Regions from separate parts of the Homo sapiens genome. Here regions 1 and 3 are each linked to region 2. Evidence: promoter capture Hi-C in 16 types of primary human blood cells and fetal thymus (Javierre and others, 2016). All regions are on one chromosome and are shown on one strand. Each heading gives the region's core, a stretch centred on a gene start or on the middle of the fragment in contact. The rest is flanking DNA. Distances are from core to core; before and after follow the strand shown. Region 1 has its middle 39 kb from the start of PTH1R. Region 2 holds the start of KIF9 (kinesin family member 9). Region 3 overlaps CCDC12 (coiled-coil domain containing 12).

Region 1 (2,820 bases), core at 62-2,561, 370 kb after region 2:
GGAGTTCCAGGTGGGAAAAAAAAAAAATGAAAATGAGGCAGAAGCAATATTTAAAAACTGGCTGAGAACTTTCCAGAAAAAATCACCAATTCACAGATTCAAGAAGACCAGTAAGTCTCAGGCAGGTTAATAGGAAGAACTATACATCCAAATGTTCTGTTTCTTCATCTGGGTGATGATTAGGTATTTTTACTTTATGAATATTCATTGAACTGTATACATGTTTTATGCCCTTTTTGTATGTTTATTCTAAGTAAGCAAATTTACTTAAAAAAATTCTACACTTTTTATTAATCATCAGTTGCTACACATAAATTACCCAAAACTCGGGGGCTTAAAATAACAAACACTTATTACCTCAGTTTCTGTGGGCCAGGAATCAGGAGTGGCTTAGCTGGGTAAGTCTAGCTTGGGGTCAGTTGTGAAGCTGCACTCATCTGAAGGCTGGACTGGGGCTGGAGGATCTGTTTCCAAGATGACTCATGGGGCTGTTGATTGGTGGCCCCTGTGTCTTGCCACATGGACCTCTCCATCGGCCTGTGTGTTCTCAAGACATGGCAGGTGGCTTTCCCAGAGTGGCAGTCTAAGAAAGAAGGCAGGAGGGAGCGTTGTGGGGCTTTCTTATGATCTGGGCTTGGAAGTGATATTCTGCTACATTCTGTTTGTTAGAAGCAAGTCACTACGCCCAGTCGACACTTAGAAGAATTAGCTTCCACTTCCTGAAGGGAGGACTGTGTAAGAATTTGTGGACTTATTTAAAAACTACCACATACCTAATCACATTGTAATAACATTAAAGAGCACAAAGACCAAGAAAATACCTTAAAATCAGAGAGAAAGGACATACTACCTTTTGAGGAGCAACATAGCAGCAGATATCTCAGCTATAACCAGTGTAAACAGGAATGAAAGAAAGTTGTCATCCTAGAATTGCATACTCAGGGAAAATATGAGACGTGTTTTTTGTTTTTTTGCAGAGATGGGGTCTCACTATTTTGCCCAGGCTGATCTTGAACTCCTGAACTCAAGTGATCTGCCCACCTTGGCCTCCCAAAGTGCTGGGATTACAGGCCTGAGCCACCGCACCTGGCCTAAGATGTTTTTAGACCAACGAAGTCAGGGATTCTGTCACCAGCAGACTCTCACTAAATGAAAATCTATTTTGGGGTAATGAAAATGTTCTAAAAGTGATTGTGGTTGCACAAATCTGTGAATATGCTGAATATGCCAAGAGCCATTGAATTGTACACTTTAATGGGTGGGCTGTATATGTATAAAGTTGTTTTTTAAAAATGAAATAAGCATTCTCCTTTTAAAAAAATCATAAAGGATATTTTCAGACTGAGGGGCACAATCCCAGATGGAAAGTCCAGAGAAAGGAAGTATAAATGTAAATAAGCACTGACCTTGTAAAACAAAAATGTGTTGTGGGGTAAAGCAGGGGCTATTTAGAATACATAACAACAATGGTATGTAAGTTCAGAGGTAGGAGGTGGTTGGGGTTACAGTCCTTGAAGACGCTCACTTAGGAAGAGGGATAAGACTAGGAAACAGGCCTCTTGACATTTCTGGGGTAACCTGAAAAGAGTAGAAACAGAGTGTACCACTTTCAGAGGAGATGAGAGAGGAAAAAAAAAAAAAAAAACCAGAATGGGAAAAAAGTAACTATCCAAAAGAAAGCAGAGAGAAAAGGTGGATTGAGTAGTTGAATCCAGATATATCAGTAATAGCAAGGTATTAGACTGCTTTTCTTTCTTTTTTTTTTTCCTTTAAACTCAGTTTGCTGAGTTTAAAAAAACCTGAAGCCGACTGGGTGCAGTGGCTCATGCCTGTAATCCCAGCACTTGAGAAGGCTGAATTTGCTCGAGTCTCAGGCAGATTGCTTGAGCCCAGGAGTTCAAGACCAGTCTGGGCAAAATGGTGAAACTCCGTCTTCTACAAAAATAAAAAATAAAAAAATTAGCCAGGCGGGGTGGTGCCTGCCTGTAGTCGCAGCTACTTGGGAGGCTGAGGTGGGAGATCATGTGAGCCTGGGAGTTCTGAGCGACAGAGTGAGACCCTGCCTCATAAATTAATAGAAACAAAGATTAATGGGACTAGAAAAGCTCTATCAAGCACAGGATCAACAAAAGAAAGTGGAGGTGGCAGGAGTGAGGCCAGGCAAGGGAGACTTTCAGAAGTGTCATTAGCTACACCACTGTACTGTGGAGCAGTGGGACCTCTCACCCACAGCCATAAGAGTGTGAAATGTGTAACCACGTTGGGAAAGTTGAACATGTGCACGCTGGGACCCATCAGTTGCGCTCTTAGTGCACTAGAAAACTTGCACATGTACACCAGGAGACAGGGACAGAAATGCTTGTAGAAGCATTGTTTGTAATAGCACGGGCACATGTGTGCACACACACACTAAATCAAAGCCAGAATGTGGTAATAATAAGTTGTCATTCTGAAAGTGTGATGTTCCATAGCTGTGAGAAGAGCTACAGTCATGTGCAACAAATGGATAGATGTTGAAAGAAGCAAGTCACGGAAGAAATAGAGTATGAGCCATTTGTGTGACGTTCCAAACAGGCGGAGTGAGACAATGTAAGGACACACGCAGGTGGTAAGGCCAGGGCAGAAGAGCAAGGTGGTGATCGTCAACTTCAGGCTTGTAGTTAGCTCTGGAGTGGGGCCCTTTGAGATAATGGCAAAGTGTTTTTCTTGGCTTGAGTGATGGGAATTTATTCTCTATATGTATTTATTTTTATACAACTTGCTGTATATGCTGTATTTCAACACACAGGCTTATTTTTTTTTCTATCTATCTATCTATCT
Region 2 (3,243 bases), core at 320-2,819:
GAGACTCCGTCTCAAAAAAAAAAAAAAAAAGAAAAAAGAAAAGAAGAGCAAAAGAATCTCTGCATAGTTTTATTTTTTCTTTTATTTATTTATTTGTGTGTGTGTGTGTGTGTGAGAGAGACAGAGAGAAATAGGAGAAATAGGATCTTGCTGTGTTGCCCAGGCTGGAGTGCAGTGGTGTGATTACAACTCACTGCAGGCTTGACCTCCTAGGCTCAAGCGATCCTCCCACCTCACCCTCCTGAGTAGCTGGGACTACGGGCACAGGCTACCATGCCCAGACAATTTTTTATTATTTGTAGAGACAGGGTCTCCCTACATAGCCCAGGCTGGTCTCCAATTCCCCCACTCAAGTGATCCTCTCGCCTCTCAAAGTGCTGGGATTACAGGTGTGAGCCACCATGCCTGCCCTGTTTGTTTTTTAAACAGGGATCACGCACAGATGCTGAGAGCTTTCCAGCTAAAGCCCAACAGGGAGCCCCACTGATCATCTCCCCAACCGGACGTCTCCACATGGTTCGGTGGCTTGGCCAGGCAGCAGCACAGCATGCCTCTTCCTCATGAAAAGACCCAGGCACAGGAGGGAGGCTGGCTCTAGCGACCAGAATGCTGGTGGGGAACAGGTGGTTAAGATATCTTTCCCTCTTAATATCAGTCAGCATCCCTCTCCCCACGCGGCCAGCAGGCCCAGCCCCGGGGACCTTTGTGGTGGTGAGTGGTGCCTTCCAGTATGGGGCAGGGTGGCTTCCCACCTCAAAAATTTTCCAGAGAAGATTTTAAAAGCTCTTAAGAGACAAAGTAGTAATTCAACAATTAAGGGCAATGATTCCTAAGGAGAAGCCTTCTCTTCTAGAACAGCACAGCCAAGTTCGACAGGCACAAAGAAATATCTGTAGTGACAAGAGAAGGTTCTTCAGTGGTGCCCATCAGCATGTGGAGCCGGCCACCGCCCCTGCCTCCATAGAAGGTAAGTCCATTTTCTCTTGTCTGCATGACAGAAAAAGGAGGCTGTCACCCGTGTCTCCCACTCCAAGGGCCTAAGCGGCGCACCTCTCAACCTTTCCTTTCAAGGGCTGAAAGGTTGTCCTCTTCCTCTCCCCACTCGGCCCCGATCCCCTTTTGCTCGGCACCTCTCTCCCCACTACTCGGCCCCCCTCACACCTCTTCTCCCCACCCCTCTCCCTGCTAGACCTCTCTTTCTCTGTCCCCCGCCCCTTTTTACTCCCCGCTCGACCCCTTTTCCCTCAGCCCGCTGCCGCCCAGTCCGCGGTACCTTGAGGGTCACGTCGCACAGCTTGCCCTGCCGCCGGATCTCCTCCATGACGCCGTAGCCGCGACTAGGCAACTCAGACACGGAGAAGTGCACCAGATCCTCCAGCTCCTCCGCGCCGTCCTCCACCATCTTCCCCGGCCGCTGCAACTGCGCAGGCCTCGCCGGCCGGCTAGACACTAACCAGGGCGGGGCGATAGCGCACGCCGACAGCCGCTCGGAGCGCGGAGCAGCAATCGGACGGGCCTCCGCGGCCGCCGTAGTTGAATCTCCTCGGCGCCGGAAGCCCCGCCACTCCGCTTCCTGGTTCATGTGCGGCCTTCGTTCCCTCGCTATCTCGACCTTGACTTCGCATGTGCATCCGCCGAAGTCTTTCTAGATCAATCGGCCCCATCTCTCGTCTTCCCGATTCGGCCATGACCTCACCCGTATCCTCGACGTAGGACCTCGGACTTCATTTCCGCCACCCCGACACTTCCGGAATCCCCGGAAGCGACCCGTTGCCATGGCGACTATGTACACAGCCAGGCAGCCCCGCGTGGGGAGTGCAGGTGGTTTCGGTTGCGGCAGTCGCGTCCCGGGAGCGTCGCTGCCTGGTGAACGGTGAGCAGGGGCTGCTCGCCGGTGGGAGTGGGGAGACGGGAAAAGGGTGTGCGCCCGGACTGCTGAAAGTGGCTGGGGTCCAAAAACCGCTTTATCTGGGGGTTCCCAGCTGGGTCGCTCATCTCTGAAACCCAGGCGAAGGAGGGCTCGACGTCGCGGGAGTCCTTTCAACCTGACCGCGGCTTACGGTCTTCGGAGCTAATGTTCATTGGTCCCACAAAGGGGTCCCACGTCGCGTCCAGGACATAGAGGCCGTGAGGCAGGGAGCCAGAGGTCGTCTGGACTCTTCCGTACTAGTCAGTTTTCGAACTAGAGGGGGCTTTGGGATCACCAGTCGGAGCCCTTCGTGTTACAGGTGAGGAAACCTCTCCAGAGAGGGACCGGAATGGGTCCAAAGCCCACTGCCGCCCAGGCTCCACGCGGGGGTCCGGCACATTGGGTGAGAAAAAGGAGAAAGTCTAGTTTTGCCTGCATCCTAGTCTTGTTCAGCCAAGGCCAGGTGCAGTTGGACCCAGTGTTTTGGATTCGGGTGTTGGTGCTGCCGCTACGGGTAGCTATGAGGGTTCCCCATGACAGCCCCTCATCTGGACGGGAGCACTGGAAGATAGGGACCCACCTGGTGCCTTCCACCCCACCAAACGCTCCCTTTCCTCTTGTCTAGTCTTCATGGCTGCTTGTTGCCAATTCTGTTCATTCCCACTAAAGACAAATGAGGAAACCTCGAGCGCCTTAACACAGAAGTCTCCTGGTGGCCATTCAGAGACTTGCTTTGTTATACCAGAAATATCAAAGGGTGGTTCCCCAAGGAGAGACATTCCCCACAAGGTCCTGAGGGAGAAAGGGAGGGGGCCGGGCGCCGTGGCTCACGCCTGTAATCCTAGCACTTTGGGAGGCTGAGGTGAGCGGATTGCTTGAGCTCAGGAGTTCAAGACCAGCCTGGGCAACATGGCGAAACCCTGTCTCTACGAAAAATACAAAAATTACCCGGGCGTGGTGGTGCACGCCTGTAGTCCTAGCTACTTGCGGGGCTGAGGTGGGAGGATCGCTTGAACCCAGGATGTGGAGGCTACGGTGAACCGAGATTGTTTCACTGCACTCCAGCCTAGGTGACAGAGTGAGACCCTGTCACAAAAACAAATAAACAAAAAACAAAAACAAAAACAAAAAAAGCGTGTGGTGAGGTGCTGGATGTGGATTTTTGCACCTGGAAACCAAGTGTCCTCCTGGAAGGGCTGTGGGCTTTGGTTGGAGTTGTCATGGAAGGGGAGTGACATCATATGCCCCTTGGGACTCTCTCAGTAGTGACTGAAGATAGACCCACATATGAAGATTCAGCTGCCCTCTGACTTCCAGCCATTACCATCACCAAC
Region 3 (2,893 bases), core at 170-2,669, 340 kb after region 2:
GCCCTTCCCACTTCTCTCCCCCTATGCTGTATCACCCAATTCTGCCCAGCCCATCTCTCAGTAGGAAACCTCTCACCCATCGCCCAAGAACCACGTTCCATGTTGACCTCTCTCGTGTAGCTGCTGTCACTTGGTCAGTTATTTTGTTCTCGCTGCCTCGTTGCCATGAGATGAGCTGCCCTGAGTTGGGGTGGGGGGCATGTTGATCTGTTCTCATGACAGAAGCCTTTCTCTGGGCCAGGCCTCCGACCTGGTTTTGGTAGTCTGCTCCCCGGAGGTTGTGTGGCCAAGGAATGGCAGGGTCTGGTTGATGCCTGCAGTCTCCACATAAAGCAGATACCATTCTTAGGAAGGCAGTTGTCAATGGCATAAATAAATGTCTAGGAAAGGTAGTTCAAGTAGCTGTTTTACTTATAATTTATATGCAGGCTCCAGCGCATTCTGTGTCCACCAGAGCAGGCTCCCAATGGAAGGAGCTCACAGATCTCTCTTAGAACACTGCTCTGCGAGAGTCAAAGGCAGGACGCTGCCATAGTGAAGTGAGCATTGTCACCTTCTGGAGTGCCAACCCTGGCATGCAGGGAGACCCACGACAGCTCTGTCTTGGGGCCTCTCAGTCCATGCCCTGGGCCCCAGGTGTGGTCACACGAATTTGTGCATGTGCACACACGCCCTGCGTCAGTTTGTCCACAGGCAGGCTGACCTAACAGAGGTAATCACATAATAAAGGATAAAGTCCAGGAAGACATTTTCTGCTTCAGGTGGAAGCAGTATGGCAGTTTCCTTCTGTTGTGGCCCCCAGTGCACCTGAGAACAAGCATAACATGTCAAGGTTGAGATGAACATGACTCTGTAGACTTCAAAAAGAGGTGCAGTTGGTGGGAAGTCAAAAGAACCAGATTAAGAAAATTTTCATGGAAACTTCAGACTAATTCCCCTTGCCTCTGTCTCCCTGAATATAGCATAGGCCTAGGCAGTGAATCTTGTTGCAAGCCTGGTCCTAGTTCATGTTACTTCTAAAGCGAATCAAATAGGTATTTCTGGAGAGGACTCTGGCCTGAAAGGTGTCTCAGGAGGCCTGAGCTCTCATCCTGCCCTGGTTGCTGGTAACTTCTTTCCCCAGTCTTTCCTAGCTTAGCAGGTGGTTCTGTCTAGACCCATGAAGGTGACTGCTGGCCTGCCAGCATGGCCCCTCCATGGCACCAAGTGGCTGCATTTCTCACCACCTAAAGCCATCCAGCTCTTTCTGTGAGTGTTCTCTAAGGGCTACCAGGTACCTGGGACTGGGCTGGAGTTACGGACTTTTTTTGTTGCTTTTTTTTTTTTTTGAGATGGAGTCTCGCTCTGTCGCCCAGGCTGGAGTGCAGTGGCTTGATCTCGGCTCACTGCAAGCTCTGCCTCCCAGGTTCACGCCATTCTCCTGCCTCAGCCTCCCGAATAGCTGGGACTACAGGCGCCCACTACCACGCCCAGCTAATTTTTTTGTGTGTTTTTAGTAGAGATGGGGTTTCGCCGTGTTAGCCAGGATGGTTGCGATCTCCTGACCTCGAGATCCGCCCACCTCGGCCTCCTGAAGTGCTGGGATTACAGGCATGAGCCACCGCGCCCAGCCAAGAGTTATGGATTTTTAAATTCTGCACAGGCAATGAGGCTCCAGTTGTGCCTATGAGATGCAGCAGGCGTGTACCCTGTTGGAGTCTGGGACACCAAGCTGGGCCCTGCCAGGTGCCCCCCTTCTGAGATGTCCTGTTCTTTAGCTCCCTGGGCCACGTGGACTGGAAGTAGGAGCTTTCAACTGAGCTGGTGGTTTTCTCCCTTTCTTTGCAGGACAAGGAAGATGGGGAGCCAAAGACCAAGCATCTCAGAGAAGAGGAGGAAGAAGGCGAGAAGCACAGGTAATGCCCGTGTGCAGCTCCAGGGTCTGCTCTCTCCTCCAGCACTCATCGGTCTCCCAGTCTCTGGGTCCTCCCAACTCTGTTCAGTGTCTGCCCTGTTCCCTCCCCTCTTCTTTCTGCCCATGGCTGTCCTGTTCAGACCTTAAAATCTCAACATCTCAGAAGGCCCTTGTCGAGGCCTTCTCTGCCTCCTTTCCCTCATTTTCCATTTGGCTGTTACTCAGCCCCCAGCATTTTCTTTCTAGCCCTTACATTATGCCTTTTTACCCTTCTCATACACCTTTTGTGGCGTGGTTCTCCATTGCCTACTGAGTAAGTGCCCCTTCTGCACTTGGCATGTGAAGCTCTGCCTGGACCATCTAGCCTCATCCAACCTCCTCTGGTTTCCCTCTAGCCAGAGCCCTTTGTGGTCGGCCCTTGCCACCTCTGGCCACTCAGCATTTCCTGACCAGTCTTTTGTCCGTCCTCTCAGCCTGGAGGTCCTTCTCATCTCTCCTATACCTTTGATGTCTGGGTCTTCACATAGAGTTCAGCTCAAAGGGCGCCTTTCTCGTTGTCTGTGTCCCTCTGGCTTCATTTCCCTCTGTAGTATTTATCTTATTTTGTCGAATACTCTCATCTGGTTGGGTCCACTTAAGTTGCCTAAACACAGCACACGTGAGGGTCTTGGGTACACTTCCCTCGTGATTGCAGGCACAAGGTCTTCCCCCGCAGTCTTGAGGGCTGCAACCTCCACAGAGCCTCAGATGCTGCTTTGCCTCCCAAAAATCTGGAGCCTGGAAACTGTTGCCGGAACCAGTGTGTGGGGTGAGCGAGGCAAAGCTGTGCTGCTGATCTTTGTGAGCAGAGTGTCTGACTACCACTCCCGTGTCAGCAGTTCCAGAGGTCTCATGTCCTCCCTCCCATGCCTAGCCCTGAGATGGGGCTCTCTTCCTGGGGCCAGACTGTGTGTCTTTCTGGACAGGTTGCCTTGATTTCCTTTGCTCTGAGCAGCTTCC

What was found. Contacts are between HindIII fragments. The CHiCAGO score rates a contact against its expected background, and 5 or more counts as called.
Region 1: a contact is called between a fragment that was not itself captured here and the fragment with the promoter of KIF9 in region 2, in 1 of 17 cell types (neutrophils). The highest score is 7.4, in neutrophils.
Region 3: a fragment that was not itself captured here is called in contact with the fragment with the promoter of KIF9 in region 2 in 2 of 17 cell types (neutrophils and total CD8 T cells); the score reaches 9.9 in neutrophils.

Annotation. Positions count from the first base shown.
Region 1 is chr3:46,915,112-46,917,931 of GRCh38, reverse strand. No RefSeq gene overlaps it. Among named protein-coding and RNA genes, the nearest start is that of PTH1R, 39 kb to the right of the region's middle. The HindIII fragment of the contact is 4,758 bases long and covers 1-2,820 here.
Region 2 is chr3:47,281,125-47,284,367 of GRCh38, reverse strand. It overlaps KIF9 (kinesin family member 9), which reads left to right and starts at 1,569. Exons shown (of 21, transcript NM_182902.4): 1 at 1,569-1,873. It overlaps KLHL18 (kelch like family member 18), which reads right to left and starts at 1,424. Exons shown (of 10, transcript NM_025010.5): 1 at 1,274-1,424. The coding sequence starts at 1,402. RefSeq lists enhancers at 1,441-1,830, 1,046-2,245. The HindIII fragment of the contact is 6,231 bases long and covers 1-3,243 here.
Region 3 is chr3:46,940,000-46,942,892 of GRCh38, reverse strand. CCDC12 (coiled-coil domain containing 12) reads left to right here. Exons shown (of 7, transcript NM_001277074.2): 2 at 1,828-1,895. Among named protein-coding and RNA genes, the nearest start is that of CCDC12, 35 kb to the left of the region's middle. RefSeq lists enhancers at 2,095-2,594, 2,595-2,893. The HindIII fragment of the contact is 9,713 bases long and covers 1-2,893 here.